Regions from separate parts of the Homo sapiens genome. Here all the other regions are linked to region 1. The links are contacts of gene promoters, found by promoter capture Hi-C in blood cells and fetal thymus (Javierre and others, 2016). All regions are on one chromosome and are shown on one strand. The core of a region is centred on a gene start or on the middle of the fragment in contact, and the rest is flanking DNA. Distances in the headings are between cores, read along the strand shown. Region 1 holds the start of DYNC1LI2 (dynein cytoplasmic 1 light intermediate chain 2). Region 2 overlaps CMTM2 (CKLF like MARVEL transmembrane domain containing 2). Region 3 overlaps TK2 (thymidine kinase 2).

The links. The method cuts DNA at HindIII sites, captures the fragments that hold promoters and counts their contacts. A CHiCAGO score of 5 or more calls a contact.
Region 2: a contact is called between a fragment that was not itself captured here and the fragment with the promoter of DYNC1LI2 in region 1, in 7 of 17 cell types (activated CD4 T cells, naive CD4 T cells, naive CD8 T cells and 4 more). The highest score is 7.9, in activated CD4 T cells.
Region 3: a contact is called between a fragment that was not itself captured here and the fragment with the promoter of DYNC1LI2 in region 1, in 3 of 17 cell types (naive CD8 T cells, total CD8 T cells and fetal thymus). The highest score is 6.3, in naive CD8 T cells.

Annotation. Positions count from the first base shown.
Region 1 is chr16:66,749,843-66,753,023 of GRCh38, forward strand. DYNC1LI2 (dynein cytoplasmic 1 light intermediate chain 2) reads right to left here and starts at 1,767. Exons shown (of 13, transcript NM_006141.3): 1 at 1,643-1,767; 2 at 1,431-1,504. The coding sequence starts at 1,749. It overlaps DYNC1LI2-DT (DYNC1LI2 divergent transcript), which reads left to right and starts at 1,910. Exons shown (of 2, transcript NR_133569.1): 1 at 1,910-3,058; 2 at 3,154-3,181. RefSeq lists a silencer at 1,395-2,194 and an enhancer at 1,408-2,123. The HindIII fragment of the contact is 3,643 bases long and covers 1-2,696 here.
Region 2 is chr16:66,579,757-66,583,314 of GRCh38, forward strand. It overlaps CMTM2 (CKLF like MARVEL transmembrane domain containing 2), which reads left to right. Exons shown (of 4, transcript NM_144673.3): 1 at 1-136; 2 at 270-428. Among named protein-coding and RNA genes, the nearest start is that of CMTM2, 2.1 kb to the left of the region's middle. The HindIII fragment of the contact is 685 bases long and covers 1,335-2,019 here.
Region 3 is chr16:66,528,847-66,531,346 of GRCh38, forward strand. It overlaps TK2 (thymidine kinase 2), which reads right to left. Exons shown (of 10, transcript NM_004614.5): 6 at 148-221. Among named protein-coding and RNA genes, the nearest start is that of TK2, 20 kb to the right of the region's middle. The HindIII fragment of the contact is 3,419 bases long and covers 1-2,500 here.

The sequences.
Region 1 (3,181 bases), core at 517-3,016:
TAATTATAGACCTAGCAAAACTCTTCAGTACAATCTCAGTTAATTATTAAGCACTTCTTCATCTCCCTCCACCCAAACAACACCCCCCTTCCCCGGATCCTTAAACATCAAGGAGAACCATCGCCAAACATTACTAGGCACTTCTGCCATTTAATAATATGGAATTACAGAACATGAGAATTGAAAGGCAGTCAGTCCACAGATCAAAGACCTCCTCTCCATCTCCAATGCCTCTACCTTATTCAGGCCCTCTGCATCCAGACCAAGGTGAGGACCTGTCAGCCTGACTTCAGTACCTGCTCATTTTGAGCTACTGTCCCTCTGCAGGCAGCGTTCTTTCTAAAACTCAGATCTGGTGATCTTGATCCCCCACTTCTTGAAGATCTCTAAGGGTCCGGTATTACCTACCACAGTCAATTCCTGAGAAAGGTCACACATTCTAACAGTAGGAAAACTACCAAGGCAGTGATTCCCATGGGAATTGGGGGATGGAGGTGAGATAAAAGCCATTTGAAAAATCAGAGAACTTCAGGAAACAGCACTAACTCTTCAGCCTTCCCACAATCTGCCCCCAACTTACCTTAGCAGCCACCAACCACAAGGCGCTTCTAGCAGTTTCCAAACCCCACACCCTCTTGTCATCTGTGTCCCTGCATACTGACACTTTTCTGCAAAATACTCAACCCCCGAATCATCCTCCTTCACCAGCTCTAAGCAGTGTAATGCTTCCACAATAATCGGCATGGTGCAATGCAATCACCAATACATCTGTCTTCCACCAGACTGAGATTCTTCTATAGTGTTTAAGAGTCGCCTATGCTGAGCCTGTGCCCAGCCCACAGGTCCCAAGCAACAAATGGACTTGCTGTGTGAATGTACCCAAACTCCCTCACTTGAGGAGAGTGAGGCCAGAGGGAGTAAGGGACCTGACTCAGGTAACCTAGCAGTGAGGGCTAGCATAATGGAGGAAACGTCCCCAGTGCTGACTCTCTGTCCTCTGCAAAGTCCCTAAAACCTCGGACTATGCACTACTGATGAGGCTCAAAGAAGGCTCCCGTGGTCATTTCCCCACAGCTCCGAGCCCAGGTCACCTCGTTCTCCCACCTTCTCCACCTAATCTCATCTACTAGCTTCCCCTCTCCACGACCTCAATTTGGTAACCGTCGAGGCAATGAAGGCATAGAGGGCCAAGTGACTGAAACAATATGCCGACAACCCCAAAGCACCACTACGCTCTCCAAAGAGGGCAGCATCCCACCCTCAGGCGCTGGAGGCTTGACCACTCTCCAGCTGACCGGCCAGGGCCGACGGTCCCTTTCCCGCCAGGCTGCGGGCAGGCGGCTGGAACGGGGAAGGCGGGGACCTGAGGGAGGGGCGCCCGCCTCGCCCACCCCAGCGACCTGGGGCAACGCCCCGCCGCCGGCGCTCACCGAAGACCAGGATGTTCTTGCCGGACGGCAGCTTGGACCTGGCGCGGGTGGACACTTCGCTCAGAATGGAGGACCTGTGGCGACAATGGCAAGAGTGGTCAGCCCCGGGCCGGGCTGGGATGGCCCGGCTCGCGTCGGCCCCTCAGTGTGTCCGACGGTCCGGCCCAGAGGCCGCGCCCCCCACGGCCCGGCCCGACCGCCCGCGGCCTCACCATAGGCTCTGGCCTTCCTCCTCCTCACTGGTCAGGTCGCCGGCGGCCGCCACCGCGGGCCCGTTGGGACCTAGCAGCAGCTTCTTCTCCACCCCCACCGGCGCCATCTTGCCAACTGCAGCCACAAAGAGGGCCCTCCCCCGGGCCCGCCGAGGACCCGCGAGGACCCGGGCCGGGCCGCCCCCCGCTCGCCGTCCCTCGCGCCGCGCCGCCCGCCGACCTTGCCGCGGCGACTGCGCCGCCCAACGTGTCCTCTAGGTCTGCGATGGCCACGGGCTCCCACGGGTTGCGAGGCCGCCGAGGTGGCGGGCGGCGGTCAGGCAGCCGCCGGGGCAGCCATGCGCGGGGAGGCGGTGGCAGGGGCGGGCACCGTCCGGACCGAGGGCGCGCTGGCGGCCTCTGCCGGCTGAGGGGCGCAGCGCAGCACCCCGCCACGCTCGCCGATTCCCCTGCGCCGTCGCGGGTCGGGCAGCCGGATGACCGACCCGAAAGCCTAGGCTTTGGGAATGAGACTGATGGACACAAAAGCGCCATTTATCTAGAGCTCACCATGTGCCAGAGTCACACATTATCTCACTGAATCTTATCTAACCCTTTCACAGATGAGGAACCTGAAGCTCAAAAAATTTAAGAAACCCACCCAAGGACCCAAGGCTAGAAGATAACATTCGGTACTTCTAATTTATTCCCCAACCTTGGACCATTATATCATGAACTTGGCCTAACCCTACTCAAGCCCTGCATTGAAAGACTAGCCTTAAGGAAGACCCCAGAATCCTCATAAATATCCTGCATTTCCCCCTCCTCCTCCGAAGACTAAAGACTGTGAAGTAGTGCTCTTGACCGCAGTGCATAATACACTTGGCTTTGCTTTATTAACATGCTTTTTAAAATGATGTTTTCAGGGAGCCAGCATTTCACACCAGAAGAGGAGCCCTTAATTTCCTTGGGGGCCAGCTGGCAGGTGCAGAGCGGGGAGAAAAATAAAAGGAAAGGGGATGGAAAAGGGAAAGAGCGGAGAGTAACCGAAGGAAAAACATACATTCCATTATCAAGCTTAATTTTAGGTGTGGCCTCTACTTGAGGGCTCTTGCCATTCTCTATGGAAACAGGCTAACAAGACATTTCTAAATATCACAAGGAAGTGGAATGTGGCAGAAAAGCACCACCTAAGTAGGTTTCAGATGAGTAGGATTGTGATCCTGATGCCAAAAAATCTGGCGGCATGAATTACGGGATAAAACAAATGGGCATATCATCTGCCAAACTGGATGTAAGGTTTAAACAAGACGAGAGTGAAAACCCACTGAGTTCCTCCCTTGGAAATCTGGGAAAATCAGGCAAAGTGCCAGAAGTCCTAAAAGGGCAAGCAGTGCTGAATTTTCACAGGACAGAAGATGGAGATGAAAATTACAGGCCAGTGAGCTTAATCAGCACTAAGTGAAATTTTGTGATTAAACACTAAAGGAAAAGAGAATACCAGATTTACACAGTATCTTTCTTTTTTGCAGGAGTACCAGGTAGGCGGATGCTGCAGAT
Region 2 (3,558 bases), core at 427-2,926, 170 kb before region 1:
CAAACCTCAAAAGGCGGTGCAGCCCAAGCACGAAGTGGGCACGAGGAGGGGGTGTCGCCGCTACCGGTGGGAATTAAAAGACAGCAATAAAGAGTTCTGGCTCTTGGGGCACGCTGAGATCAAGATTCGGAGTTTGGTGAGCTAAACTGGTATCCCTGGGTGGGGGGCCTTGGCCGAGGGTGGGGGGAAGGAGGAGTAGGCTCCAGGGGTCCTCAGAGAGATGGTGAAAGGCCCTTGCTGCTGGCTCAGGTGTCTATGTCTCACTGCAGGGCTGCCTAATAGCTGCAATGATACTGTTGTCCTCACTCACCGTGCACCCCATCTTGAGGCTTATCATCACCATGGAGATATCCTTCTTCAGCTTCTTCATCTTACTGTACAGCTTTGCCATTCATAGATACATACCCTTCATCCTGTGGCCCATTTCTGTAAGTAAGGGGTGATGGGGAGTGCCTGCATCCAGAATGCTGATCAGGTGTGTCTTGGCACCTGGAAAGTCACCAAACAGAGAGACACACCTCACCTCCCATATCTGTGCCTGGGTCAGGGACTCAGAACATCAGTGGGGCCCAGGCAGAGGCAGCTGGGTGCAAGAGGGGTAGCTAGGCAGAAAATGCTCCAAAAAGCCTATCTGTGTGTTGGAGTGAGAGTGGGGAACTCTTACTTACCTGGTGGTCAAAGAGGGCCTGAGCCTTTGTTCTCTTTAGGGGAAGGGGAGGTGTAGCAACCAGCTGTTCCTCCGAACTCCTGTGCCAGCTCACACTTGACAGGAGATCACCCCAGAAGGACCCCATTCCCAAAATTCAAAGAAGAAAATTACTCTCCCATAAGTCAATAAAATAAAACAAAATGGGAATTTTTTTTAAAAATCACTTCTAAAGCAGCGTTAGGTCTCCAGTGAATATCCCTATAAAGGATGTTTGGATCAGAAGGATGTTCAGCCCAAAGCAGTCATCTAGTGGAAAGAGACAGAACTGGGCAAGTTACTAAACCATTCCCAGCCTGTTTCCTCATCTGTAACATGAGACAGTCACATTCCTTGCAGAACTGACATTCAATCCTGAGGATTAAATGTAAATTGCTTGACACCGTGCCTGAGGACTCATGGAATTGAATCCCTGCCCATCACCTGTTTAACCACAGGGCACAACCACCTAACCCCTTGCCAGTCAATGAAGACCCCAATTCCCAAGTCCCTTTGTTCATTGCACATTCACAGCCTGCCTCCAGAGCCCTCTTGTTCACTGTTTCACTCACGTTACACATGAGGAAATTGGCCTAGAATGGCCAAGTAACTTGCCCCCAGGTCACTCAGCTGGTAAGTAGCAGAAAAAAGCTTCAAACTTAGCTTTATGAGTACATTTCATCCTGCCTTCTTGTTAAAAACTATTAGGGTCCAGGGATCCAGAGGTCTTGGTGAAGCAGATGAGGACCTCCGATACAGGGAGAAAGGACAGGAGGGCCAAATAAGGACTCTCAGAAAAGGGACAAGCAGAGGACAAGGTAAAAGGACAGGCAGAGGACAAGTTCCTAAACAAGGAGCCTGAGAAGACATTTTTAGTTCCAGCAAGATGAAAAACCAATGAACCCTGAACATCTTCCCACTGTGCTTACCTAAAAATACCAGGGGAAATGTAACCAGTATTGCTTTAACTGAATGAATGAGCTGGCAAAAAAGAAATGAAAACACACAGGCGCCAGAAATGGCAAACAGGGCAGTGATCACATAAGCTACAAAGTATGAGTGGGAATGGTCCAAGAGGTATTGTCTCAGGAACCTACAGCCTGGATTTTCATGCACTCTCAAGTCAGGAAATAAGGCCTTGATCCTAAGCAAAGTGGGAATTTAGAACTGAAAACCCTGTATAAAGCCAGCGCCCTGGAAAGACTACCTCCTTAGGGAAAAGATGGACAAAGACACATACCCTTCTTATTCCCAACACAGAGGAATAAGAAAACATGTTCATCTCTGCCTGAGCTTTGAGTGGGCGGAGAGGAAGTCTTCCTTGAGAAATAGAAAGCTTAAGCCTGCCCTTTGTACAGATTGGAGTTTGAATTTTTGTTATCTGCAGCCTAGAAACCTTCATGCAGCCCAGAAACCTTCATCCCTGGGAATTACCATAAAAACTGATCCCAGTCTGATGACATTCTGCTGATATCCTTGGACTCCTGATAGAAACAAATGCAAAATCACAATCAAGGCATGAAGAGATTCTCACAGTGGGGGTGGGGGGAAAACCTTGTCAAAAATGAACTAATAATTCAAAACTACTAAACACCTGATTTTAAAAAATCCCCATTACTAAGAATCAACAAACACAACAAATGGATTAGAATCCTGAGAATATGAGATAATAGAAGAGCTGTCTGAAAATAATAATATATTTTAAGGGATTATAGACATAAGAGTCCTGAGAAAAGAGTAAGACACTATGAGGACAAAATAGACAGATTTTTAAAAAGTACAGTGTCTAGAATAGAAAATATAGTTATTGAAATAAAAATGTCAATAGATGAATTCAAAAACAGATCAGACATAGCTGAAGGAGGGAACTGTTAACTGAAAGGTATGGGGAAATTACCCAGAACACAGCACACAGAGAGAGAGAAAATAAGAGATTGAGACAGAACAATGAGTGAGAACATCCATCAGTGGTTGTTGGGCTGGGTGTGGTGGCTCACACCTGTAATCCCAGCACGTTGGGAGGCTGAGGTGGATGGGTCCCTTTGGTCCAGGAGTTTGAGACCAGACTGGACAACATAGGGAGACCCTGTCTCTACAAAAAAATTTAAAAATTAGCCAAGCATGGTGGCACATGCCTGTTGTTCCAGCTACTCAGGAGGCTGAGGTGGGAGGATGGCTTGAACCCAGGAGGTCAAGGCTACAGAGAGCTCTGATGGTGCCACTGCACTCCAATCTGAGTGACAGAGTGAGACCCTGTCTAAAAAATAATAAAAGAGGTGTCAAGAAGCCAGGCACAGTGATGTGTGCCTGTAGTCCCAGCTTCTCAGGAGGCTGAGGCAGGAGAATGGCATGAACCCGGGAGGCAGAGCTTGCAGTGAGCCGAGATCGTGCCACTGCACTCCAGCCTGGGCGACAGAGTGAGACTCCATCTCAAAAAATAAATAAATAAAATAAAATAAAATAGACATCTATCCAAACCTGCACAAATTGTATTTTAGGTGACACTTCAGGAGCATTTCCTTAGAGATGCTTACTAGCTTCTCTTGTATTCAACATTGTGATAGAGACCTTAGTTCAATATGACAAGAAAAACAAAAGGTATAGAGATTGACAAGAGGAAAAATCTAATAGAATTATCTACACAGAAAATCTAAGAGAATCTACAGTCAAATCACTAGAACTGATTGAGTTCCACAAGGTTACCAGACACAAAAGCAGTAGTGTTCCTGAATACCAACAATGAACAATGAGAAACATAGGATTTTTTTGGCTGGGCACGGGGGCTCACAGCTGTACTCCCAGCACTTTGGGAGGCCGAGGTGGGTGGACCACTTGAGGCCAGGAGTTCCAGACCAGCCTGGCCAACATGGTGA
Region 3 (2,500 bases), core at 1-2,500, 220 kb before region 1:
TGGCTGTTTGTTACACCGCATTGCTATGGCAATGGATAACTGATACAACAGCGGGTACTCCATATCTGTCAATCGAATAAACAAGTTTCTATTTCATTTTGAAAAATTAGTGGTTTAATAAATTATCAACTATTCAAACTACAGTACCTTCTATACAGGTTTTCTACAAAAATGTATCTTGCGCTGTGAATCGACCTCTCCATCAACCGTACAGATGACACCTAAAGGAAAACAAAAAGAGAATCACTAACTCAGGGGAAAAGGAGACAGCCAGGAGGCCTTGAGAAATGTCTGTTACTCCCCCTGCCTGGGGACTTTGCTGAATATGAGAATCAAGGCGGCAGAGAGAGTGAAGCAGGAGGACCTCCTCACTCCCCTGCCGGGAGGAGAAGCCACATCTGCCACCAGGCTCAGGCTGTGTCCCCCTTCCACCCTGACCTGCCCCACACCCCAAAGCTGCATGCATGGCCCAGCAATGCCGAGGCTGAGGGCTCATCAGCAGCTGCCTCTTTGATGGCAGGTGAGTCTCAACTAGAACACGGTCAAGCCCTGGAGAAACCATCCAAAGCTGTCCACTTGAGGCAACATGTGGTGACTACCACGGACCTAAATAGGGTGAGTTTGCTTAAGCAGAGGGACCACATGCATGAGGTACAGCCCCAAGAGGGTCGGGTTGGGGGTGACGTTCTGGGGGCTCTGCCCAAGGAAACTGGTAAGAACGATGCCCAAGAGGGAGGAAGACAGCCTGACAGTGCCCCTTTCTGCCAGGATGCTCAAACCCTCTGCAGACGACCTTGCCCTTTGTCCAGCGTTCCTCTGGGAAGCAAGAGGCGCCCTGACCCTTGATGCCAGGCACACTAACACTACTCTCACTTGGCCATGGCCCACAGCACCCATGGGACCTGGGCCAACAAATCCAAGGCAGATTCAAAGCCATAACCCAGGCACTTCCTCCCTCTCCCTGCTGTCCCTCTGTCCATCCATCCTCTGCCCATCCATCTTCCTTTCCATTCTTCCATCCTCTCTTTCCTTACTTCCTAGCTCCCCATTCATCCCTCTGGTCTCCTTCTGCTCATCTTTCCTGGTCTGTCCATCTCTCTCTGCCTCCTGAGGTAGATTTCCTTAAATAGAGGAGTGCATTTATATCCCTTCCTATTCAAATATCATTAGATACAACTTAGGTTTGCAATTGAGTGCCTGCTCAGGAAAAGCAAATTAGCAAAGGCAAAATGCACTAACCTCAGATCTTTCGATTTGTGGATTTGTGCAATTTAGACAGATATTTGGGGAGATGGAAATTCTTATTCACCAAAAACGGCCCACTCACATCTTTCAATTTTAAAAGACAGACTTACAGAAGAATGGTAGCTATTGCTGCAGGTACCCAGACTGGGACCGAACTGTCCAGCCCAGCAGCTGTGCCAGTGTTAACTGGCTGTAGGGACAGTCTGTCTCCTTCATGCAGAGCCTTAAAGCTGGCATCATAGGTTGTGCTTACAGCTTTGAAACATAGGTGCTGATCAGGACCTCCACAGCCCCCTTTCTTCTAAGAGACTCTGTCTCTAGATGCATCCTCACTGATGGAATAGGCCTAAGCAGCCATGTTTGTGCCTTGGGGTCCTGTCCCCAACACCTGATTGAACCAGGGCTGGACACCTGACCAAAGCTGAACCAATCAGATTCTTTGTCTCAAGAATTTGAACTAAGAGCCAGACCCCATGAAGGTTAAATAAGTGGTTCTCAAATATGAAAACAAACAAAGCATGCATTCGAGTCACCTGGAGGGCTTGATAAAACACAGATTGCTGGGCCTCATCCCTAGAATTTCTAATTCAGCAGGTCTGGGATGTGACTAGAAAATTTGCATTTCTTTCTTTTTTTTTTTTTTTGAGACAGAGTCTCACTCTGTCACCCAGGCTGGAGTGCAGTGGTATGATCTCAGCTCACTGCAACCTCCGCCTCCTGGGTTCAAGCCATTCTCCTGCCTCAGCCTCCCAAGTGGCTGGGATTATAGGCACACACATACCACCACGCCAGACTAATTTTTGTATTTTTTAGTAGAGATGGGGTTTCACCATGTTGGCCAGGCTGGTCTTGAACTCCTGACCTCAGGTGATCCGCATGCCTCAGCCTCCCAAAGTGCTGGGATTACAGGTGGGATCCACCACACCCAGCTGAAAATGTGCATTTCTAACAAGTTTCCAGGTGATGCTTCCGCTGCTGGTCCAGGGACCACACTTTGAGAAGAACTGAGTTAAACGGCATTAAGCCCAGCAGTGGTCAGGTCATAAAGATGTGAGCTCAGAATGGTGGCAGGGGCACCACCTGGCTGGCTGAGGTTTGCAGGTGGGGGCACTAGAGGCAGGTCAGAAGAGAACCACAGAAGCCAGAGACCTTGGCCCCACACAGAGAGGCCTGCACAGCACTGAAGGCCTAGCCTGGCTTCCTTGTAAAGTTTCCCTTCCTGGCAATCACATACCCCAAGTCTGAAGAAAACGTT